7 separate regions of the Homo sapiens genome follow, and regions 1, 2, 3, 4, 6 and 7 are each linked to region 5. Evidence: promoter capture Hi-C in 16 types of primary human blood cells and fetal thymus (Javierre and others, 2016). All regions are on one chromosome and are shown on one strand. Each heading gives the region's core, a stretch centred on a gene start or on the middle of the fragment in contact. The rest is flanking DNA. Distances are from core to core; before and after follow the strand shown.

Region 1 (3,953 bases), core at 407-2,906, 940 kb before region 5:
TGAAGAAATCCAATAAAAGTCAAATGTATGTTAGTGGTTTCTGTACAATAAGGAAGTGGCTTTTCACACAATGTTAAAAACAATATTTCCCATCAAAATTCAGAACATTAGTATTACAAGGTCAGTAGGAGGATCAGCCCCATGGCAACTGGTGGAAAGCACCAGGTACATCACTCCTCACAGTAGTGGGTCTGCCTGTCTCCCTGCCTCCCTGCCAGACTGAGTAACTTGACCACAAGAACCAAGTCTCTGCATTTTCTGTATGTGTAGCTCAGCATAGTGCCTAAAACCACTGGATGGTGAATAAGTGATGTTTTTCACCTTGATGAATTAGAATTAGAAGTAAAAGAATGTACTATTTCATGAAGATGGAAGTAAAGTTAAGGTAGCTATTGCCACTGTCTTCCTTACCTCAGATTATCATGGAGCAAATGCTAGGCATCTGACAATTTCATCCATAAATATTTCAGCCTGCACATCTGGAAGATGAGGAATCCTCTAAAGACATAACCGAAATATCATTATTACATTCTAATATGTTAACAAGGCTTCTTTAATATCATTAAATATCCACTCGGTTAAAATTTCCCATTTTTCTCCTAATTTATTTTATAGCTTACTTGAATCAATATCAAAATAAGACACATGCATTGCATGGGTTGATAAGTCTGATGTCTCTCTTTTATTAAAAATCAGTAAAAATCAGTTTAATCTTTGTTTCTTTTTTTCCAACTTTTTATACGGAAAAAAAAAAAACTGAGGGAAAAGTTGCAAAAGTACAATGACAGCTCCTGATTGTCAATTGTTAAAAATGGTGTCATGGTGCAGGCTGGGTTCTCTGGGAAGCTGATGCTGAGATGGAGTGAGGAGTCCAAAAGGTTTATTTCTCTCACATCTGTGAGAGGAAAAGGGAGGAAGCAGGATTGGGCCGAGGAAGGGAAAAAGCAGATCTGACAAAGTCTCTACTAACCCAAGAGGAAGCTCTAGTACAAAGATTGCCTGTTAAAGGAGTCCCCCATGGGAGCAGAAATTCCTATGCCTTGATACCACCCCCTAGAACAGGGGCCTCCCCAAGAAGAATGTGCCCTGGACTTTCCTCACCCTGCTCAGTCATTCATCAGAGGCTGCCTCAAGATTAGTGTGATCTCAGCTGGAAAGCCCAGGTGACCCTGAAGAAGCTAACAGCAAGAGTGTGAGCAAACCACTCTCCTTGCAGCTAGGAAGTGGTTCTTTCTTGAAGGGGAATCTGGGTGGTGCTTCATGTGTCTCCCATAGTCCACTATTTACACAAAAATGAGTTCCCTTCTCTACACAGGTTTGGGGAGCAACTCCTCCAGGTTTCTGGTCACCCTCTCTTCCTTATGGGAAACCTAGAAGAGGGAGGTTAGTAGACGATCTACAGCCCTGTTGCTGCAGTTGGTGACCAGGGCTACCACTAGGACTTATCAGCTCCTCCTTCATTATCTATTCTAATTTTCCCTTGCTAGTCTTGCTGGTTTGGTGAGGGGGGCTGTGAAACCCTCATTTGTGAGGAGGCTTAACACCCTAAACCTTATCACCTTCACTCCTTCCTAAAAGGCCTGAGTATGGAGTAACTAGAGATGTTTCTAGAAAAAGACATTTTGTTACTTGGAAAGAAATGGTTTGAATCATGGAAGTCATGAGACAGGAAAAAAAGAGAAGTATCAACACTTGACTTTTATGTCATGTGAGAAAGTGCAAAAGGAATCTCTTAATTGCACAAAACAGTTTTAATTACACAAAAATCATGCAAAAAACCCTTATTAAGCCTCTTTGCCATTTGGTATTAAAATAAAGCCATCGACCATGATAGGACTTTTCTGGGAGAGGGTCCAGGAAGGAAAGGGGAGTATTAGCTGAGTACTAGGCACCATGGGGAATACCAAACTACGACTGAAAACCTCGATGAGAAAAAAATAACAGCATGCATGAAGTGATCCGAAAATAACAGTAGCAATAAAGTCACTGTTAGGCCACTGGGCTATCTCCCTCTTTTGAAATTTGTAAAATGGAAGAACAAGCCTCCTTGCCTTTTGCAGAGCTAACCTGGAGCTTAAGAAGTCCAGAAGGTACTGGTGTGCTGTAGGGTAATTTGCTACTAAATTCTCAAACCCCCAACCTTGCGATCTGCCTGCCTCGGCCTCCTAAAGTGCTGGGATTACAGGCGTGAGCCACTGTGCCCAGCCTGCTACTAAATTTTAAGGACAGAGTAGTACTTAAGTTTTAAAAATGCCACTAAAGCTGGGTGTGGTGGCTCACGCCTGTAATCCCAACACTTTGGGAGGCCGAGACAGGCCAATCTTGAGGCCAGGAGTTCGGGACCAGTCTGGCCAATAGAGTGAAACCCCATCTCTACTAAAAATAAAAAAAATTAGCCAGGTGTGATGGTGTGCACCTGCAATCCCAGCTACTCGGGAGGCCGAGGAAGGAGGATTGCGTGAACCCAGGAGGTGGATGTTGCAGTGAGCTGAGATGGTGCCATTGTACTCCAGCCTGGGTGACAGGGCAAGACTCCATCTCAAAAAATATATATATATATGCCTCTAAAATGGTGAAATTCCCGATTTTATCCTGTGGGTCTCATTTATGATTCTTTTGCAGTGATAACCATACATTTTTGGTTACAACAACAATGACGACATCTCACTTGTCTCCTTGCTTCCCTGTATTTCCCACCTGATTTACATGGCACATTGCTGCCAAATTAATATTTGTGGCTGGCCCATCTTAAGTGACCCCGATAAGTCACACTCTTGTATAATCCTTTCTCCTTGAGTACAGATAAAACCCGTGACTTACTTTAACCAATAATATATGGCAAAGGTGATGGCTGTCACTCCCTAATTTAGGTTATCATCTACATCCATTTCCATATCTATGTCCATGTCCATATCCATGGCTGTATCTATATCTGTGTGACTCCTTTCTTGTGCTCAGTAGAGAGATTCTCCTTGCTAGCTTTGAAGGAGTATGCTGCCATGTTGCGAGAGAGCCTTTAGTAAGGCCCATGTGGTAAGGAACTGTGGGTGGCTGCTAGGACCTGATGGCCACTTCCAGTTCAGAGCCAGTAAGAAGCCAGGGCCCCTAGTCAGACAGCCACAAGGAACTGAATGAGCTGACAGGAGTTTGGAATCAGATTCTTCCCTAGTTGAGCCTCCAGATGAGAATTGCAGTTTGGCTGACATCCACTTGTAGCCTTGTGAGAGCATGAGCACAGGACTCAGCTAACCTGTTCCTGACCTCCTTGCCCATGGAATGTGAGGCAATACATATGTGTTGCTTTAAGCCACTAAGACACTAAGACTGTGATAATTTGTTGTAAAGCAATTTTAAAAACCTGAATACCATGTGGTTAGGAAAAGTGCTACACTATTTATTAGTCAAAAGTCTTCAATTACTTTTCATTGTCTTTGGAATAAAGACCAAAAAGCTTATATGGCCACTAAAAGCCTCTTGTTATCTACATTATTCTATTTTTCCATGTTACTTTTTTATTACCTGGTCTAGGCCGAATGTGATGAAGTCTCTATCAACCCACAAGAGAGCTCCAGGGCATAGACTGCCTGTTAAAGGAGCCGCTCACGGAGCAGAAACAGCTAAGCCCTGATACCACATTTTCCCACTTCACCTACTTCACGTCCCTTGTATTTCTTCCAAATTTAACTTTCTATTTATTGCATATATTCATGTTTTACATTTCAATGCTGGTGACAAAGTTGTTTTCCTTTCCCAATTATTATTCCAAATCTGACCAATTTTTCTAGACTTCCATATGACCTAATGTGATTATCCTTCCTTACCCCAACCTAGAAATAATTCATCTCTTTTCTTCCTTGCTCCTTATTTGGCATTTCTCATCCTGCACTATACTATAGCTTATCTATCTTGGGGGACATTTGTCATTCTTTTTAGCTTTCCAGCATCCAACATAC
Region 2 (3,380 bases), core at 222-2,721, 960 kb before region 5:
TTGAAACTCAATATTGCCAAGATACCAATTTTACTCAATTTGATCTTTACAACTGATGTAAGATCTCAGCAGGTTTTCTTGTAGAAATTAACAAATTTCCATTCTAAAAATTATAGAGAAATGCCAAGGACAGCCCAAGTCGTTTTGAGGTTCTAATCTGAAAAAATTATATTATCAGATCTTAAGAACTATCATAAACCTTTATTAAGAGAATATAGTACTTGTACAAGAATAAGCAAAATGATCAAATCAGTTTTCCTTTGAAAGAAGAGTCTAGAAACAGACCCATCTCACATACAGTACTCTGATGTCTGAAAAACTTGATGTAGCATTGCAGTGGGAAAAGGATGGTCTTTTCAATAAATACTGCTAGATCAACTATATACTCATACAGGAAAAGAAATGAATCTCAACACACCATACACAAAAACCAATTCCAGATGGGTTGTAGATCTAAATGTAAAAGGTGAAACAAGGAGGGTTTTAGGAAAAAATACAGGAAGACACTTTCAAAACCTCAAACTAAGCAATGATTTCTTATACAAAACACAAGAAGTACTAAAAAAAAAAAAAGGTTTGACAGACTGGACTATATTTGATAAACTGGAAGATTAAAACCTTTTATTCATCAAAAAATGTCTTTAAGAGACTAGGAAAAAGTATTTGCAAAACATATCAAACAAAGGACTTATACTTCTAATACGTAAAGAACTCCTACAAAACAAGGAGAAGACTGAAACCCAAAAGAAAAAGAATGAACCCTTGAATAGGTACTTGACAAATGAGATTATCCAAACAGTCAATAAATAAAGTCAAAAACTTTCTATAAAGCAGGAAAGATGTTCTACTTCATTAGTCATCAGGGATACCCGGGAAATGCAGATTAAAACCAACTCAGCAAAAATAGCTACAAGAAGAATTAAGTATTGTCAAGAATGCAGAGCAACTAAACTTTTATATACTGTGAGAGTGCAAGCTGGTATTAACCATTTTGGAGGGAAAAAAACCAAACTGCTAAAATACACCAACCCATCAAAATTCCTGGGGAATACATCTAAGACACATGTTCACCTTAGAACATTTGAAAAAGTATTATTAGTAATAGTTCTAAGAGTCAAAAATCAGAAACAATTAAATTCTTATCAACAAAAGAATGGGTAAGCTAATTATAGTTATACAATGAAATACTACACAATAATGAAAATAACTGGTATAAAACCTCTTGCAAAAACATGGATGAACCTCACAAATAACATTGAGGAAAGAAAGCAACTACTAGCATATACTATATGACTACATACAGTTCAAATACAGACAAAACCAATCAATGGTATCAGAAATCAAGACAATGGTTACCTTAGTGAGTTACTGATAGAATAAGACTTCTGGAGGCTAGCAATGTTTTGTTTGTCTGGAAGCTGATTAAATAGGTGTGTTCAGTTTGTGAAAATTAATTGAACTATACATTTCTAATTGTGTGCCATGTATGTCTCAATAAAAGTTTGCAGAAATAAGAAATGCAAGAAAAAGCAAATCTAATGCACAAAATAAAAACAAATGTTAAAACTCAAGTTGTGATCAACTCCACATTCTTAACATTTCAATCAGCATTTCACCTTGTGTTATCCTGAAAGCCATACACCAAAAATCTAAGAAAATAATATTTACAGTCAACTAAAATTAGTCTTAAACTTTATAAATGGGAATATATATCACTACACTGTTTTTCAAAGGCCACTGATTGGGTCATATCTATTCATTTTAGATGAACACAAGCCAAGACCCAATAATTGCCCTTTTGAAAGTCTATTCCATTTTAACAACACTTACTCTATTTCACAATAACATGTAGTATAAGGAAGTTCAATGTAACATGTTTGTAATAGTAAAGTTAGAAAACAACTTAAATGGCAATTAATGGAAAACTAGTTTAAAAAGTTATGACAGGGGCCAGGCACGCTGGCTCACGCCTATAATCCCAGCACTTTGGGAGGCCAAGATGGGCGGATCACTTGAGTCCAGGAGTTCTAGATCAGCCAGGCCAACATGGTGAAACCCCATCTCTACTAAAAATACAAAAATTAGCCAGGCATGGTGGCGCATGCCTGTAATCCCAGCTACTCAGAAGGCTGAAGCAGGAGAATCACTTGCACCCGGGAAGCGGAGGTTGCGGTGAGCCAAGATCACACCACTGCACCCCAGCCTGATACTTTGCAGTGTTTAGGGGGGAAGAAAGTCTCATTATAAAATGTTCTCTAGGATCACATTTCAAACCTATGTATATATATAAATGCATAGGGGGTAAAAAGACAGAGACAGGCACAATGAACAGTTAGTATCCATAATTCTGCATCCTTTGCTTTTTTGTGATGAATAGGTATTTTCATTTTAAAATATTAAATGAGTTGAGAAGAATTTAGTGTTAACTGCATTTACACAGGTGTCACAAATTACAGAGGTATCCATTCTATAGTACAATATATCCATTCATGAAAACCACCCTCCTGCAAAAACACACACCAAAAAGAGAGAATTTATGGGAAAAATAAGTTTGTTGGCAAACTACTTGAAACCCATGCAATTTTGTAACAAGATCAGTAAGAAAGATAGTAACCAGACTGGGCCCGATGATGGCTCATGCCTGTAATCTCAGCACTTTGGGAGGCCAAGGCAGGTGGATCACTTTAGGGTGGGAGTTCAAGACCAGCCTGGCCAACAAGGTGAAACCCCATCTCGACTAAAAGTACAAAAATTAGCCAGGCGTGATAGCGGATGCCTATAGTCCCAGCTATTCGGGAGGCTGAGGAAGGAGAATCACTTGAACCCGGAAGGTTGTAGTTAAGCCAAGGTCACCAAGATCGTGCACTCCAGCCTGGGCAACAGAGCAAGACTCCAACTTGGAAAAGAAAAAAAAAAAAAAAGACAGTAACTAGGATTCAGGAAAAAGATGGACATCCCAGCATGTGGCTCAGAGCTGGAAGCGACCTTGGGGAATATTTGAAAAGAACAAAATCAACTGGAAATGATGCTTACAGGTGTTGTGACAAAGCAGACTGAAGTGGAGCTCTGAGCCAGTGGGGCTGCCATTAAGGAAGGGACAGGAGAAAATGCAACACTGAAAATAAACCCTTCTGGGGAACAAACGCTAGGTGTAGGCACTCTTATTTAACTTCATTAACTTTCTTAAAATAAACAAGAGAGGGAATTTGCCTGTGTGGCTGAGAGCTTTCTGCTTCCAGATGAAGGTTTTATTTCTATTTTTCACTACCTAGGAATAATCACACATGAACCAATACAACTTCCATATCACATTGACATCTCTCTATTCATCAATTATTTACGAGCTAACTGGTGTTACAGACACACATCTTGCAGCTGAA
Region 3 (3,454 bases), core at 433-2,932, 920 kb before region 5:
AGAAGAAGAAGAACTTGGTGTAGGTGTATCTAGGCCACTTTATTTAACTGTATTATAATGGAAAACACAATGATGGGGCAAAAACAAACAAACAAACAAAAAACCCAAGAATTTATCTTGAGAATTAGGAATTCTACTCAGCCCAGTCTCCTCTTCCTAGTCTTCCTCTTAAAAGGCAGTCATATTACTGATTTTTTTTGTACGTTATCATTTCAGAATTATTCAAAGTGTGTGTGTACCCACTGTATATTTTGGTGTTTGTTTTATATCTCATACTGCAGTGTTCCATTATAAAGCTCTATCATAATTTATTTAATCCCTGATTTGTGGACATTGAAGTTCTTTCCAGGTACCCTTTAAAAATTATAGACATTTTCAAATATATAAAAGTAGAAAGAACAGTATAATGCACACTCTTGCACTAAAAAGAGCTTCGATACTTACTTTCACAGTTTGAGTTCCCTGGTGAGCGGACTCTGAGATGGAGACTCAGGCTTATTAGGGAGTGCTCTTGGGATCAACACCCAGGGAAAGGAAATAGTTTGGCCCTGGGTTAAAGTTGAGTCGTGATGAGTCTCAGAGGAGTCTCAGTTGACCCTGGGGGAAGTTCTGAAGATGGGATGACCCTTCAGTGATATCCTGATTTGTGAGGGGGTCTGGCCTTTATATTTCCATATTGATCCGTCACTGGATGTGGGCTGTCCCATGGGAAGGGTACAAGAGCTTGGACAAGCCATCTCTCTTGGGCTGAGGCAATCCTTAGTGGTGCTGACAACCTGGGCTTGTCTGCTGGGAGCTCTCTCACCAGTTGGGTCCTTCCTTCCTGAAGGAAGATTTGGGCACATAGCATCCATCATACTTAGGATACTATTTCATCTTCATTCCTTCGTCTTTTTTTTTTTTTTTTTTTGAGCCGCAGTTTCACTCTTGTTGCCCAGGCTGGAGTGCAACGGCACAATCTTGGCTCACTGCAACCTCCGTCTCCCGGGTTCAAGCGATTCTCCTGCCTTAGCCTTTCTAGTAGCTGGGATTACAGGCATGCGCCACCATGCCCAGCTAATTTTTTATTTTTAGTAGAGACGGGGTTTCTCCATTTGGTCAGGCTGGTCTCAAACTCCCAACCTCAGGTGATCCACCCACTTTGGCCTCCCAAAGTGCTGGGATTACAGGCATGAGCCACTGCGCCCGGCCTCATCTTCATTCCTTCTAACACCACTTAGCCCATATTCTCTTTCCTCTCCCAGGAGCCACTGATCACAGACATCATATGATTTTATCTGTAAACACTGCAGTTCCATTTATCTTTTAATGAGTACTGTGTTTTGGCAAAATCTTGATTAACCAGAATGCCTGGATAATGAAGCTTTCTGATAAATGGAATTTTGTGGTAAATGAAGACAATATAGGAGAGTGAAAAGTGTTGCATTAGGACCCTGGAGATCTGTGTTTGCTTTTGAGCTCTGAGATCAGTTTGATGTGTGATCTTGAGAGAGTTGCTAACAGACCTAAATATCCACCCAAATAAAAAATCCCCTGGATGGTAACCAGCTATACTCTCCATTCTGGATTGGGAAACCAGGCTATTTTTTTTTTTTTTTGTCAATTACAAAAGCGTTTCTTTTTTAAATGCTTAAATATAAAAAATAAAAGCAAAACAGCAGGAGACAGAGCGTTATTTCATAAACTTTTGAAATGACTTGGTTTGGCAAAAGCTCATTGCTTTTTTACCATTCAGAACAGTTTTGTTGAGGTCTCTGGTATCATTTTATGAAAATACTTTCTGAGTTACAATTTTTTAGAGACCAGATTCCTCTTTAGCGTCATTGCACTCTCTTTCCTTCCTCTGCCTCACTATGCTTCCCTCCTACCTCTTTCCTTACCACCCAGTTTGGAAAGCAATAGTCTTCTTGCCTGTGGCCTTACGTATTTCGCCAAACCCCATGACTTATTGTTCTTCCTCTGTAATGTCTCCTATTTTTCTTTCAGTACTCTAACTTTAGCTAAGCTTCTTCTCACTTAGCACCCAGGCTTTTTGCAGTAGCATCATATTTGGTTTATCTGTCTTTAGTTGTTTCTCTGTGGTAATCCAACCCTCATACTATCTCAAAAAGTTTGAGCATGTTGCTTCTCTATGTAGATATCTGCTTATTGGACCATTAAGTATCTTTACAATGTGGCCCAACTGAAGATCAGTGTGGAACCTTGTATTTTCTCTCATCCCCAAACCTAGAGTTAATAAATTATGGTTAAGCATAGAGTAATTTATCTTCCATGATGGAATCTAAATTGTCGATACTTCCCTAGGCATCAGTATTGTAATAATAATGCCCATCCTTTACTTAGAAAGCTTTCAGTATTTAAAACTGCTTTTTCTTTTCTTTTATCCTCAAAGTACCTTTGTGTGAAACTTGCATCAGAATCCATGTTGCATCCTGATCACCTTGGTGTGTTGAAAATCAAGTCTTATCTATTATATCTTTAGCTCTCATATCAGTATTATTATTAGTACTATTCTCACCATGAACACCCTTCACCATATATTTATTAAAGATGTCCTATGTGGTAGATGTTGTGCTAAGCATCATTTGGTAGTGAGTACACAGAGTGTGCATCTTGTAACCAGGGAGCTTGAAAGAGTGGTGGTGGAGACAGCCATTAACAGAGACGCCCCAGAAATAAGTAATAAGAGATTGTGATAAATTTAAGCACCACCATTTCTCTTCTGCAGAACTCCAGTAGCCTCATTGGTCTTCAGGTCCTCAGTTTTATCCCTCTCTGTTATATCACAGCTTGAGTGATCTTTCTGAAAAGCAATGTCAGATTTAAAGCACTTTACCTGCTTCCCTTTGCTGTCAAATTAAAGTCCAAACTCTTGAAAATGTCTTACCAAGAAGCCCCTTGTGATCTGATGCATGTTGGCTATTGGTTGTTTTTTCACCATTCTGCCTTTTTACTTTAAATGTCAGCCCTACTATTTACTGTTTAGAAAGAATTGAGATTACACCTCTGGCCCTTAGAACATGTGATTACCTGAGCCTATTCCGGTTAATTCCTACTCATTCTAGTCATCATTTCTTCTAGGAATCCTTCCTGGACCCATTGAAGTCTAGGTTAGGGAATCCATCTTTTGTGTTTCCATATGTCTTGAGACTTCTCTCATGCTCTGTGGTAATTGTTTACATGTATGTAAGCCCCACTGGATAGCTGAATTGTGTCTATTTTATTTATTATTGTAATACTTATACCTACCATGGCATTGGCATGAACTAGAAACCTGAGAAATGCTGCTCTAAAATGTATACTAATTATTAGGAGTTTGGAATTTTATTTGAAAGCCATTTTAGTTTTGGGATGGAAGTTGGTAGTATTATTTCTAATAAAGTAATGCAGAACTAAATTGTTATATTTGCATTGCACAATTGCACAATTTGAGTTGTTTGACAAGCATACACAG
Region 4 (3,715 bases), core at 34-2,533, 980 kb before region 5:
TAGGAAATAAAATTTAAAGTTTAGAATGGATTAAAACTATTCAACTAGTTAAATCTAAAACATTTTATAACAATTTAATTTTATTGTGATGTTATGCCTCAAAATGTAATACAAAATTAAATATGAAACAGTAGAAAGTAAAAAAAAAAAAAGGCTAGTGAGCAACACGGTATGGTAAAAAATTAAAGCACCTAGTTGCAAGCCCAAAACAAAAGCCAAAACAAAATAAAAGGCCAATTAAGAAACACAACTAGGATGAGATCTGAAGAAAGAGATGATTGAGGAAACCTAGGTAACAAGGCTGATCCAGATGATAGAAGCTGTAGAAATCTTGCACCAACAATGGCGAGAACATGGGAAGGGTGAGAGCAGACAGGTGCTAGATGAGCAGAGAAGCAAGGAGGGGAGTAGAGTGAGACAAGGTCAATCTTTATATTACTTCATTTTAAAATATCTTCTGTTTTTAGTTCATTTGAGTTGGATTAAAAAAGCTGAAAAATAAACAGACAGAAATGTTACAAAAATAGCTGATACGGTGAATGGCCAGTTTAGAAAAGTCTATTTTTATTATAGTGATAAAAATCTTTTCACATGCACCTCATTTCCTAAGAAGCAGAAGCCCCTATAATTTTCTCATTTTTGTATTTTTATAAAATTGTAATTAAAAATTCTGTATTAAAATAAAGCAATCCATATAAAGAGCATATTTTAGCAAAAACATCTACTTCCAATTAAGATGGCAATGGCAAGCTTTTCATGCTGCAACACAAAAAATCCATTGACAACAACAAACAGCCAAAGTATAGATTATAATCTGTGCGTGATGCCTATAAGAGCCAAAACCAGACAAGTGGAAGGGGTATTCTAGTCTGTCAAACCTTAAAAGTCTAACCTTCAAAGTTGTAATAGCATGAAAGGTTGTCTAAGATTTCTGTCCACATTGGAGATTCAACAGCATTACCTTAGCTTCTGTCAGATATCTTAGTGACATAAGAAGTCAGTGACATACTAAAAACGGAAATTATCCAGAAACAGCTCACACAAGATAAAAATATAAACTGAAAATGCTAAACATTTGATCTACTTTATTATTCATTAAGCCATTTTATATAGCGCCCTTCACTACACAGAGGTCATCAAAATTTTCCTCCCTGTGCCTATAAAATATATGCCAAATCTATTTCAAAATTTTCAATTCTAGGCCAGGCATGGTGGCTCACGCCTGTAATCCCAGCACTTTGGGAGGCCCAGGCGGGCGGATCAACGAGGTCAGGAGATCGAGACCATCCTGGCTAACACGGTGAAACCCCGTCTCTACTAAATATACAAAAAAATTAGCCAGGCGTAGCGGCGGGCACCTGTAGTCCCAGCTGCTACAGAGGCTGAGGCAGGAGAATGTGGTAAACTCGGGAGGCAGAGCTTGCAGTGAGCCGAGATCACACCACTGCACTCCAGCCTGGACAACAGAGCAAGACTCCGTCTCAAAAAAAAAGAAAAAAATTTCAATTCTAATTACTATGTATATACTAATTCAGACTGAGCAAACAAGTAAAAGAAAAGACATGCCACATGTGACTTGTCCTTGAACGATTGAATCCTCCACCTTCCTAAGTTCATGTCCAGGTCCCTACTTTTCCATTCTATCAAGGGTGCCCATAGCTGCCTGTTGAACTGTCCAAATTCTACTCTCAAAACTTAGTTCAAGGCCCTCTTTCTTCACAAAGTATTCTCAGACTTTCCCAGTCGTTGGGGGAAAAGGAAAAGTCACCTAGCTGGTAACGTCTGAGAATACTCTGTGGACAAAGAAACCCTTGAACTAAGCTTTGATTAATTTTGATTAACTTTCCCTATGTTTGTCCCTATGTTATCTACAAGAATATAAACTGCTGTAGACAGAGATCATGACTGAAGAGTAGTCCCTCCTTATCCATGCTTTCACTTTCTGCAGTTTCAACTGCCTATGGTGCAGTACAATAAGATATTTTGAGACAGTGAGAGAAAGAGCAAGCATGGGAGAGACCATATCCATGTCAACTTTTAACCACAGTATATTGTTGTAATTGCTCTATTTTATTATTAGTTGGTGTTAATCTTTTTTATTTTTCTTTCTTTTTGATATGGGGTCTTGCTCTGTCACCCAGGCTGGAGTGTAGTGGCGTGATCCTAGCTCGCTGCAGCCTTGAACTCCAGGGTTCAAGCGATCTTCCCACCTCAGCCTCCCAGGTAGCTAGAACTACAGGTGTGCCCACCACCTTGCCTGGGTAATTTTGTGTGTGTGTGTGTGTGTGTGTGTGTGTGTATTCTTATAGAGATGGAATCTTACTATGTTTATCAGGCTGGTCTTGAACTCCTGGGCTCAAGTGATCTTCCCACCTCAGCCTCCCAAGTAGCTGGGACTACAGGTGCACCCACCGTCTTGCATGGGTAATTTTTTTTTTTTTTTAAATAGAGATGGAGTCTTACTATGTTTGCCAGCTGGTCCTGAACTCCTGGGTTTAAGTGATCTTCTAGCCTTGGCCTCCGGAAGTGATGGGATTATAGGCATGAGCCACCATGCTCTGGCTTTGTTGTTAAATCTCTTACTGTGCCTAATTTATACATTAAACATTATCAGCGGTATGTATATATGTACAGATGCTCCTCGACTTCCGATGGGGTAATATATCCCGATTAAACCCATTGTAAAGACCAGGCACGGTGGCTCATGCCTCTAATCCCAGTACTTTGGAAGACCAAGGAAGGCAGTGAGGTCAGGAGTTTGAGACCAGCCTGGCCAACATGGTGAAACCCCATCTCTACTAAAAATACAAAAATTAGCCGGGTATGGTGGCAGGCGCCTGTAATCCTAGCTACTTGGAAGGCTGAGGCAGGAGAATCACTTGAACCCGGGAGGCAGAGGTTGCAGTGAGCTGAGATCGCACCATTGCACTACAGCCTGGGTGACAAGAGTGAAACTCCATCTCAAAAAAATAAAAATAAGTAAACCCATTGTAAGGTGAAAATATTGTAAGTCAAAAATGCTTAACTGCCCCACACTTAAGAGAATGGTTTCTACTGAGTGCATTATCAATTTTGCACTATTGTAAACTTGAACCATCATAAGTTGGGAACCATCTGTATAGGAAAATACACAGTATGTACAGGGTTTGTTAGTGTCTGTGGTTCCAGGCATCCACCGGGGGTCTAAGAATGTATCCCCCCGCCCCGACAGATAAGGAGAGACTATTGTACTAGCATCGTACTACAGGGACAAAAGATACCATACCACATATTATTTCCTTCAATGAAAACCAAACTCAATTATAATTTTTAATAAGCAAATCTATCTGTACAAGGACTAAGCTGGCCAATTTCAGTTACATGTAAACCCTCTTTTTCTTTTTTTAACTACATTGAAGTTGTTACTTTGTACAATATAAAAACAATGAAATACTAGCTTACTTTTAAAGAATAACCCTAAAAGACAAAGAATAACTACAGTACAAATGTCATTCAGAAATATTACAAGAAAATGCAATATTAATATACCTAAGAAAATCACTTAATCAACTAAAATTTATTAAACATTAAAAGCAAGGGGCTAAGAAGCCCAGAACACCAACAAGGGAGTAGATTATGGTATTCAAATTATTCTTGTAGCAGTTCTCAAAGTGTGGTCTCCAAGACCCTCTCAAGGAGTCTGGGAGGTCAACACTATTTTCATAATGCTAAATCG
Region 5 (3,425 bases), core at 834-3,333:
GATGAGGATTACTTCAAAAGTACTTATAAAATATGCACCGTTTTTAAAATTAACAAAAGAAATAAGGTTCTATATTATAACTATTAATAAACATAGTGGGTGCTTCAAAATATTGGTTAGTTGCTGATATGGAGCCAAAATGTTCTAATGTCTCTTATGTAAACCCTACAACTCTTTTATTATCCTAGAATTGTTTTTCTAATTACATAAGACAATATATGCTCAGTGAAAAAAAATGTTTGGGGGGCCAGGCACACTAGATCATGCCTGTAATCCCAGCTACCAGGGAGGCTGAGGCGGGAGGATCACTTGATCCCAGGATTTCAAGGCTGCAGTGAACTATGATGGCACCACCGTACACCAGCCTGAGCGACAGAGCAACACTCCATCTCTTAAAAAAACAAAAGAAACAAAACGTTTAAAGTTTGGAAAGAAAAAGGCACCAAGAAAAAAAATAATTCATATAGATAGCTAAACAGACAGATAATATATGGCCCACCCCCGGAAGCTTCTTATTAATTCTGTAATATGCTAAATACATAAAGTATAAAACTTTGCTTTTCCACTTTTACTTTCAGAACTCATTTTCGGAAATAATCCTCAGTGTTTTCTCACACAGAAGTTGATCTTTTCCTATCAACCAAAATGATGAAGTATTATAACTATGCCTTCAAATCAAAGTCTGTAACACAAATAAGACTCCAAATCTACTTCTGCTAGCGTTTCTGAATCTTTCCACTTTTAACCTAGACTACAAATAATTTAAAGTTTCACATATTGTTCCACGACCTCAAATCTAGGACCTGTCAGACTTTATTTGCCACAGGAAAGGTCAGTGAAAGAAAAGATTAGTTCAATACTTCTTTCAGCCCCACGACTGGCACTGTGCTGCCTCTTCTTAAAAAACAATGCCCTTTGTCCCCCAGCGCCCTTAGTGAGCTAGCCTCATTGTACACTGGGTCCTTAGTATTTTCCTAACAAAGGCACGTCTAATGAGATATGGAGGTTCAGAGGGGATTCCCTCCACTCCAAGTAGGTGTCAGACTGACGAACGTCTTAGAAAAATATGTCCGGTCTGTGTCCAGTCACCGTTCGGATGCATTGAATAAGCATCTTATTCGTGGCAGCCTTCTGCATGAATGGCTAGACATCTTGAGGATGCCTGTGTACTACTGTGTGCCAGGCAAGGTGCTCATGTTCAAGGCAAGCCTTAAAAAAAAAATTAGGATTTCAATGTACATTTACCAAAGCTCTGGCGAGGTTAGGTGCCTTGTTCAAGGTGTCACAGTTGGAAATGCTGTCCCAGCCAGGTGTGTGAGATCCACAGTCCCATCAGCTCATCCTGTGGTCACAACCTATTCACGGTTTGCATCAGAAACGTGGGAGGCTGTTCCTGGGTCTTACAAGTTCCCCAGATATCTCTAGAAAACGCTAGCCCAGGCTGCCCCACGGGGGGTCCCGCTGCTAAGGAGAAGTGGGCACAGAGGGACCAAGGACCATGGGCTTTCCTCAGCAGGGAGGGAACTGCAGGGCAGATGTCCATGGTGGTGATGATGAAGATGCCTTCCTTACTATCCTCTATGGCAGGCCCATAACATACCTTCCCTCGCGTAATCTTCTCAACAGCCTGGTTATTGCAGGTGACAATAACCAAGGCTCTGGGAAATTCCAGCCACTGCTCCAAGCCACCCAGCCGACCGATGGGACTTGAACCTGCGCCTCCTGGATCCGGGCGCCCTCCCCGCGGCCTCCCGAGCCCTGAGTGCTGCCCTCAGCCCTCCCTTCTCCGCGACGCCCCTCGCCCGGTTGCTCGCAGCACCCCCAAGGCCGCTCCCCGAATCCCCCGGGCGCGAGGGCCCGGGCGCCAGCTGCCCGCTCTGCCCACGCCTTCTCAGGGATCCTGGCCCTGGCGGCCGCCGCGACAGACCCACTTACGCGGATCGCGGAGCAGGACGCCCGCGGCGCGCAGGGCCGCAGCCATGTTTGCGCCGAGTGAACGCATTGCCTGGGCAGCCTCGGCCCGAGTCCGGGCTCCTCCCGCGGCGGCGCGCCCAGGTGTCCGCCCAGCAGTGGCCGAGCCGGGTAGCGATCCCCACGCGCGTCCCCAGCCCCCTGACCTCGCGCCCTCCCGGCGCGCCCGCTCATTCGCTGCCGGGCCGGGGCGGGCGAGGCCAGGCAGAGACACGCCCCTCGCGGAGAGCCCGCCCCAGCTGGGCGCCGCTCCCTGCGTGAAAATGGGCCCGGGGGCTGAGCTAGAAGCCCGCTCCCCACCACCATCGCAGGTCACTGCAAAACCTGCTGGACTCCTAGTTGCGTGCCCTGTTTGCATCTGCCAAACTAGCGAAGTCAGGATCCTCAGCCATGACTCAGCAAATAACTTTTTTCGACGTTTCCATTACTATTATTTAGATATAAGGATGCTTTTGCCTCAGTTCTCCAGTTTGCCTGCCTAGTCACAACACAAGTGTGCAGATCCTGTTTTGTTTTGCTTTATTTTCAGAATAGAAAAAGGGATTATTCAGTTTCTCTGCACCCTCTCTGTGTAGCAGAATTTGACAGGTGAAACTCACTGAAGAGCATTAGGAAAAGTGAAGGCCAGCCTGGCAAGTGCATTTCTTGGAGGGACGGTATGATGAGGTTTGTCTGTATCATATCCGCGCACCTTCCCAGTTTAGCCGCCCGTCCCGCCCCCAAGGTCGCACACTGAGATCACTGGGAGGAACAGGCGCCCATTTCATTCCTACACCTCCGTCAGCCCACCCTGCCTATATATGTTCAGTGCATTGTGGAGTAGGAAACCAGCCCTTGGTACAGAAAGGTCTCAGGCATCGGTATTCATTGAACAAATATTGAGCACCTACTATGTGCACTGGGAAAACAGTAGTGAAAAGAGTAGACGGGGGCTTACATGGGGTTAGGGGAGACACAGAAAATAATCACAACATGTAATACTTTGAATGATGGAGCCCTTCCACGGCCTCCCCTCTTCTTTTTCCCTCTCAGGACAAAAGAAGAATGAAGCAAGGTAAAAGAGATGGGGTAGGGTGGGGGAAGGGACTAATGCAATTTGAAGCAGGTGGGTCAGAGTCTCACACATTCGAGCAAAGGCCTTATACACATTTGAGCAAAGGGGGCAAGCCATATGGAACATTCAGGGAAGATGGAGTCTAGATTCAGCTGAAACCCAGTTTTCTGTAGCTTAAATATGTGCTACTGATGGAATTAGTTTATTTCTTATTAAAGTTGGTCCTCCTGATGGTTATAAGCCCAATGCAAAATGTCAAATTAAATGGATAGCCTTTCATATTACCTACATGATCTTCATATCCAAGCGGATGTCCTGAGAAAAGCACAGTAAAACCTGCTCCAGGTATCAACCCACCTTCCTTATATGTGTGGCTATTCTCTACCCTCATAAAAAAATT
Region 6 (3,664 bases), core at 99-2,598, 880 kb before region 5:
TAGGAAAAGATCTTTGAAATTCAGTATTGATTCGTTGAATAGTCTGGTTAACTGATATTTAGCTTTTACCTGATACGGATTATTTTAAAGAATTAAAATGTAAGAAAATTAAAAAATCTGAAGGTACCCTTTAAGATATAAAATTTTGAAATAATTCAGGATTGTGTAGTTCTGAAGGGTTATTGAGAACAGTTGAGGAAGTAATGTGTTTAAATGTTCCAAGAAATATAAGCTTACATTTTAGAAGGAGGATAAGGTAAGTATTTAAGCCTGGTACAGGCAGACTATAAATCACAAATGTTTTGGTGATGATGGCAAGGGCGTATTATAGGTACCCAGAGAAACAAGGAGCTTTGGTAAACTACTTGAAAAGACCTGAGAGGTTTGACTAACTACATATTGACTTCTTGAGAGGTGTTGGAATCTGTGGTTTTGAGGTTTCTAATATTAGGTTATTTGCCATTTCTGTTTTTTTAAGAGTATATAAAGGTTCAGTTTCTTGATAAAACAAACTACTATATATCATTTGCTTGAAATAAAGCTGTTCACAGTATAAAAATTATATGACAGATATAAAGTCCTATACCATTTTTATCATTCCAAGTTATGTTTATTATTTTTAAATGAGTGGTTTTCTCATGATTTATTGCTATTCAGATGTGACAGTTCTTATGAATTTTAATAGGATTCAAATTTAAACTCGAGCTTTTTATGTTGTTATTAAATTATATTGCCACTTCAAATATTAGATATAGGAGATGTATTAGAAACTTTTTTTTAAAAACAGCTAAAATTTAAACTGGGCTATTAACTTTTCATCTGTACTTGGACTGTTTACTATGGTACCTTAAAATATTTCATAAATAGGTAGTGATGCACATAGTATAAAATGCAAAAGGTATAAATATTACTAAGGAAGTGCAAGTCTCCCTTTCTCTCCTGTTCTCCAGCTTTTTGGTTCCCTTAACCTTGAGTGCAATGTCTTATTAATCCTTCAGATATTTTCAATTTTACAGTGTTTTAATGCTTCAGAACTATAGAATATTAGCTTAATTTTATTCTGACAACTACAAAATTTACACAACACAGCGTGGTTAGAGAGAGAATGATTTTCAGATTGGAGTAGTTGTGAGAGGTAGACTTGGGTGAATTAGCAAAATCTGAACTCTGGGATAGGGGAGGCCAAGAGTGTACCAGTTGCCTGGGGAATCTGAAGAGAGCTGGTGAAAGGGAAGGCAGATATTTTTAATGCCTTTGGAGTGCTGCGGCAGGAAACTTCCTCCAACGCTCCATCATTAGAATTATGTAGTTACAGATGAGATGATCTGACATCGTCCCTTCCACCTCCCTCCCAGTTTATTTTACCTTTCCCTGTTGCTTATCGTTCTCCTTTTATTATAGATTTTAGCTTTAAAGAGTCTATTGTCCAAGATCCAGGCACTTTTTCTTGTATTTCCACATAGGTTACTCTTAGAGAAAGAAACTAGGTTTTGGAAAAAATACTGAGGGAATAAAATTATTTTAATATATCAAGAGTACGTTATAAAACATTTTCCTTAACAAACCAGATAGATATGATTGACAGCAGTGAAAATTCATGAATTAAAAAATAACACTAATCACCCAGTATAATATTGCCAACTTATTGAATTGTGGTGATATTTTACATGAAACTATCCATATTTTCTTAGTTGATTTTCAATTGTGGTAGGTAGCTGGATTTAGAAGTACAGTTTGTGGTATGAAACCTTTGTGTGTGTAATACAGTGTGATACCATTTATTTACATTTTAAAAACACAAATCCATACTGCATATTTTTGGATACATGTATAGGTAGTAAAAATATTAAAACCGAAGGGAAAGCTAGTGCCAAATTCAGACCCTGGTTTACTTTTGAGAGTGAGAGGAAGGAGTAGGGAAACTTATTAAAGTGTCATGTTTTATTTACTTTTAGTATTATAGCTATTTAATATTTACTATTTATTTTCCTCATTTACATTGACGATTAAATTCTCAGAGCTGTCTTTCTGTTGTTAGAATTATTCAGAACAGAAGTTTTCGAAAATGCCGAAAAATAAACTGTTTAGTACCAGTGATATGTTTCTACATGTAAGCATATAGGCTAAGTTCTTTAATATATTAGTTAAAGAATGAATACTTTTTGTTTAATTTATCATATTAAACTTTTGGTCACGTAATCTCCAAAAATACCCAGAAGGGGGCAGCATGGATTTGTGAAAACAGGAATGTGCGTCATCTAACCTGAACACTAGTGTTTGTGCCTTCAATTGACAGTATTAAAACCAGTATTAGATTCCCGGCTCCTAGAAACAGGTATGCTAATATGAATGGAACACGTGACTGTGTGTATACCAGTGTGGCTAATGTTCACAGCCAGTAAGGGCAATTGACAAATTAGATATTCTTTTTAATATATCATACTATTATTCTGACAAAGTACTGAAAGCTTTTGCCTGAATTTGCTCTTATCTCCCATTTTTGATTCTAGATTTTTGTTATTAATTTAATTTGAATATTGCATTTAAAAAGCAATGTCTATACCTATAGCTTAATATCTGAAGTCAAGCAGAGCAAACTTTGTGAATACAAACTAAGCAAAAACAGGAAGCAGAACTAACATTATTTTCTTAAAATACAATGTACATAATGTTCTGTGTCATCCTTTTTCCTTTAACACTTAATTCTCTTTGATTTTGAGAACATTTTCATATATTTTTATGTATTTGGCACCATCTTTTTGATATTAATTTTATTTTTAAAAATTAAATAATACATAGTTATAGAAAATAGAGATATTTTCTAAAGACATCATATTTGTCACTAAGAATATTCCTACAACATCATTTTAAATGATACTCTGTAATTCATTTTTATTGGACATTTTAGAATGTTGCTTTAAAGTTTTTTTTTTTGCCTGTTATCAACGGTGGGAATGATAATTAGTACAGCTAAATATTTTTGTAGCTCTAGAATGGTTTCTTAGGATAAGTTCTTATACTTGGAGTTGCTATAAAAAAGGGCATATTAATTTTTAAAGGCTTTTGAACAGGTATTGTCAAATTGCTCTTCAAACAATGAGGAATAGGTTTGTACAGTCACCATTTTACTACCGTAATCCTTCATCATCCTGTTTATAATCTTTTAAGCCTTGCTAATTTTCTAGTCTTGAAAGCAGCTGTATGTAGAGCATATGTAACTATAGCTCTCACGTTCATTTTAAAGCACAAATGTATTAATATTACCAATACTATATTAGTTGTACATTCTGGTTGGTTTTATATTCTTGATAATTTTATGTTTTCCAAATTTGTACTACTATTCTATACTATTGTTTAAAGATAAAAAGTTGAGGCTGAGCATGGTGGCTTACACCTGTAATTTCAACAATTTGAGAGGTCAAGCTGGGAGGATCACTTGATGCCAGGAGTTCAAGACCAGCCTGGGCAACATAGTGAAACCCTGTCTCTATCAAAAAAGAAAAAAAAAAAGCTGGGTTTGGTGACATGGGCATATAGTTCTAGCTACTTGGGAGGCTGAGGTGAGAGGATTGCTTGAGCCCTGGAGTTCAAGGCTGCAGTGAGGCATGATTGCGCCATTACACTCCAGCCTAGGTGACAGAGTGAGACCCTGTCATGCTATGAA
Region 7 (3,430 bases), core at 768-3,267, 900 kb before region 5:
GAAGACATGACTGTTTCATATGCCTGGCTTAATATGTAGAGTGTTACACAGGAATTTGTAGTTTCTGACTTACATTCCTGGTATTCTTTTTTACTTTTTCATAGCTGTCTAATTCTCTGTACTTCAGTTTACTAATTGTTTACTGTGTTGAGTGTTGGAAAAATTATGAATTATATTAAAAATATGATCAATTATGATTTCAATGGGAAAGGAAGAGAAGGTAACTCACATTTATTGAGCAGATACAGTGTAGGCATTTCTTGTATTGTGTTTGATTTAGTCCTCCTGACACCCTTACATATTAAATAGGAGTATATCATTTTACATATAAGGAAGCTGAGGCCCTGATTATGTTTGAACATCAATCATCCTTCTAAATTGTATTTGCATAACTAGTAATTATAAGCTTATATTTCCCTATTTCTACTTATTTGAAATTCATGTTATTTTTGTGACCCACCTGAGCTTCCTTTTGATGTGATTTGTAAAGCTGATTTTATTCAGGTGTTTTATTAATTTATTCAACAGTTCTGTTTTAGATGCTAGAGGGGGATAAAAACAATTATCACGAATTCTATTTCAAAATAATTCAAAAGGGAGGATAAGATGTTAGGAAAATAATTTTTGTTAGCTATTTAAAAATTTTAATATAACTTAATATATGTGTGTGCACATACACCCATATAATATGTACCATTTGGTAAATATCTAAAATTCTTACCGAAGAAGTTGAGCTTTAGGAGAATATTGTAATAACCTTGATGAATGCATATTAATCAAGTATCTAAATTAAAGGAGAACACTCAGAAATCTTTTTTCCTTTTGGCATGAATGTAGTTCTACCAGTTCTCTGTTGGGAATCAGCGAGAAGGAAGGCTTTTATGCCACGGACATTACCCTGAAATCCTTGTTGTGGATGCTACCAGCCTTGAAGTATTATACTCCTTAGTATCAAAGATATCACCAGACTGGATTAGCTCCATGAGTATTATTCGATCCCACCGAACACAAGGTCAGTGTATTATGCCTGTTAGGAGCTTTAGCACCATGACTTAATGTTTAGTTTACTAGAACATTCTACAATTTATCATAAATTAATACTTTGGGATATATTCTTCTATGTAAGAAATAACTACACCAATAATTTATGGTCTGTTTCTTCCTTCATAAAGAAATCTTTGATTGAATGAAGACTTAATTGTTGGCTTATCTCCATTCCATGATGTATAGATCATCAGCTTTTGACAGAGTATATGGGTGATTATCTGAAGTGGAGGAAGAATAGCTTAACCTTTGGGGGTGTAGTTTTACCTTTGGGAAGAGCTGTAGTTTTACCTGTATATTTCTGGGGCCTGGTTCTGTCACTTGCTTAAGAGGCATAGGGAATGTTTCCATTTCAAATGGGGACAGTGAAAAAGGAGAGATTATACACAGTTAAATTTAATGAAAGTTCCTGGAAGGGGCTGATATGTACTTGATGCTCAATAAATATTATTATCTTTTCTTCATTTTTGTTGAAACCTCTTAATAACAACCATAAAAGCAAAAGTAAAGTTGTCAGGAAAAGAGTAATAGTTAATGCAGAACATTGAATGTCTACTTTTATAAGCCTTTTAAGGAGCATTCTTTTACTTTCAAATGGCTTCATAGTTATGTGCTTCCTATAGAGGCCAGTAAATAACCACCACCACTACCACCGGTATCAGCAGCACCATCACCATGAGGACTTTCATTTACTGTGTGTTTACACTACCAAGCACCATGCTAAGCATTTACATATGATCAATTCTCACAATACTTAGTGGGGTAGGTACTGTTAATATTCATCATATAGATGAGGAGAATGATGAGAGTTAGTGTGATGCCATCTTTGCTAAAGGACCCCGGAGTAGTTACTTTAACCACTGTGTTACACTGCTTCCCTCCCATTAGTGAATTGCCTTCAACTTTATAGGAGCTTTTGCTTTGTAACCTCTTAGGGTAGGAAAATCAGCACATAGCTTTTTATTCAGTAGTCATTCAGCAAATATTTATCGAATGCCTACAGTCTTCCAGGTGCAAGGGATTGAAATATTAATACTTAAGGGAGTCAAATTCTAGTAAAGGACAATGATATATAAACAAATAACAGTTTAGAGTGCAAAGTGTGCAAGATGGAAAAATAGTATGGAGAGGATGGCAGTGAGGCTGATTGAGGGCAGTAGAGGGCTGTCCAGATCAGATGAAGTCTGATCTAGGATTTGGAAGATGAGAAAGAGTTTAGCAGACCTGCGATCAGGATGTTTCTGGCAAAGGAGATAGTCTGTAGGTACAAAAGCATTAAAATTATGATAGGTGTATATGTGAAACTATAGATTATCTTTTTCTGGGACAAGAAGTATGAGGGAAGGAGTGGCAGGATATAAGGCTGGCAGAGCTGGCAGGAGACAGGTCTTGAAAGCCCTGTGTATCAGCTAGGGAATTCACTTTGTGGATCAGGGGTTGTCAAACTTATACTGTAAAGGGCCAGATATGAAATATTTTAGGCTCTGCAGGCCATATGGTCCATGTTTCAACTACTCAACTCTGCTGTTTTAGCACAAAAACAGCCGCAGACAATACATTAGTGATTGAGCCTGGCTGTGTTGCGATAAAACTTTATTTACAAAAACAGCCAGTGGGCTGGAGTTGACTCATGAGCTGTAGCTTGCAGGCTCTCACTGTAGATGATGGGCAGTCTCTGAAGGGACTTATGCTTTAAACTTCAAAGATGGGAGGAAATTAAGAGATTAGTTGCCCAGCTGAGAGTGGTGCAGGCCTGCACTAAAGTGGACTGTCGGAATAGTGGATGCACTGGCTTCATTTCCTGCCGCTGTTCTTCAGAGTGTTGGTTCTGAAGTTTGTTAATAGGTATTTGTCAAAAAGGTGGGATCTCTGGTTAAATATATTTGGGAGATGTTTGGTAAAATAAAATTCAGCAGGCTTCTCTAATGTGAACCTTCTCAGAGAGGTTTTTTATGCATATTAGAGAATTACTGCTTTATTCCTAAGCATAACAGTGAGAATGAGATTTGCGTTAATTTTCCAGGCAATAGGGAACTAATCATTCATATATTTATCTCTAATATTAGTTACAATGAATCTTTTATTTAAAACAGATCTGTATTTGTGACCAAGCGGTTTGCCTATTTAAAATTTTTATACTCCTTTTATATATGTTTACACTGTAGTCTGAACAGAATAGACTGTAACTTAAATCAATTAATTTCAATGCCTTACAGTGCCTAGAGAACTATGTGATATTGATAAGGTTTTTATTTAAAGATAACAATTTTTTAAATAACAGTAATAACTCAACTTTATTGAGAATTTAGTATGTGCTGAATGTTTTCCCTTGGCGTGTCTTAATTTTTATAACAACCCATTAGGATAGGTACTGTTGTTATTCATT

The links. The method cuts DNA at HindIII sites, captures the fragments that hold promoters and counts their contacts. A CHiCAGO score of 5 or more calls a contact.
Region 1: a fragment that was not itself captured here is called in contact with the fragment with the promoter of FECH in region 5 in 6 of 17 cell types (naive CD8 T cells, naive CD4 T cells, fetal thymus and 3 more); the score reaches 9.9 in naive CD8 T cells.
Region 2: a contact is called between a fragment that was not itself captured here and the fragment with the promoter of FECH in region 5, in 6 of 17 cell types (naive CD4 T cells, non-activated CD4 T cells, total CD8 T cells and 3 more). The highest score is 8.2, in naive CD4 T cells.
Region 3: a fragment that was not itself captured here is called in contact with the fragment with the promoter of FECH in region 5 in 2 of 17 cell types (naive CD4 T cells and activated CD4 T cells); the score reaches 7.1 in naive CD4 T cells.
Region 4: a contact is called between a fragment that was not itself captured here and the fragment with the promoter of FECH in region 5, in 1 of 17 cell types (naive CD8 T cells). The highest score is 6.1, in naive CD8 T cells.
Region 6: a contact is called between a fragment that was not itself captured here and the fragment with the promoter of FECH in region 5, in 9 of 17 cell types (naive CD8 T cells, megakaryocytes, total CD4 T cells and 6 more). The highest score is 9.6, in naive CD8 T cells.
Region 7: a contact is called between a fragment that was not itself captured here and the fragment with the promoter of FECH in region 5, in 3 of 17 cell types (naive CD8 T cells, megakaryocytes and M1 macrophages). The highest score is 6.4, in naive CD8 T cells.

Annotation. Positions count from the first base shown.
Region 1 is chr18:56,647,038-56,650,990 of GRCh38, forward strand. No RefSeq gene overlaps it. Among named protein-coding and RNA genes, the nearest start is that of WDR7, 2.3 kb to the right of the region's middle. The HindIII fragment of the contact is 3,586 bases long and covers 1-3,449 here.
Region 2 is chr18:56,627,298-56,630,677 of GRCh38, forward strand. The region is part of intron 1 of TXNL1 (thioredoxin like 1); the gene reads right to left. Among named protein-coding and RNA genes, the nearest start is that of TXNL1, 9.6 kb to the right of the region's middle. The HindIII fragment of the contact is 7,386 bases long and covers 1-3,380 here.
Region 3 is chr18:56,665,311-56,668,764 of GRCh38, forward strand. All of the region lies in intron 1 of WDR7 (WD repeat domain 7), which reads left to right. Among named protein-coding and RNA genes, the nearest start is that of WDR7, 16 kb to the left of the region's middle. The HindIII fragment of the contact is 642 bases long and covers 1,362-2,003 here.
Region 4 is chr18:56,604,894-56,608,608 of GRCh38, forward strand. The region is part of intron 7 of TXNL1 (thioredoxin like 1); the gene reads right to left. Among named protein-coding and RNA genes, the nearest start is that of TXNL1, 32 kb to the right of the region's middle. The HindIII fragment of the contact is 1,071 bases long and covers 749-1,819 here.
Region 5 is chr18:57,584,619-57,588,043 of GRCh38, forward strand. It overlaps FECH (ferrochelatase), which reads right to left and starts at 2,084. Exons shown (of 11, transcript NM_000140.5): 1 at 1,936-2,084. The coding sequence starts at 2,002. RefSeq lists silencers at 1,776-1,825, 1,836-1,895, 1,906-2,265. The HindIII fragment of the contact is 11,690 bases long and covers 507-3,425 here.
Region 6 is chr18:56,700,883-56,704,546 of GRCh38, forward strand. The region is part of intron 12 of WDR7 (WD repeat domain 7); the gene reads left to right. Among named protein-coding and RNA genes, the nearest start is that of WDR7, 51 kb to the left of the region's middle. The HindIII fragment of the contact is 2,236 bases long and covers 231-2,466 here.
Region 7 is chr18:56,681,842-56,685,271 of GRCh38, forward strand. WDR7 (WD repeat domain 7) reads left to right here. Exons shown (of 28, transcript NM_015285.3): 5 at 838-1,012. Among named protein-coding and RNA genes, the nearest start is that of WDR7, 32 kb to the left of the region's middle. The HindIII fragment of the contact is 3,226 bases long and covers 405-3,430 here.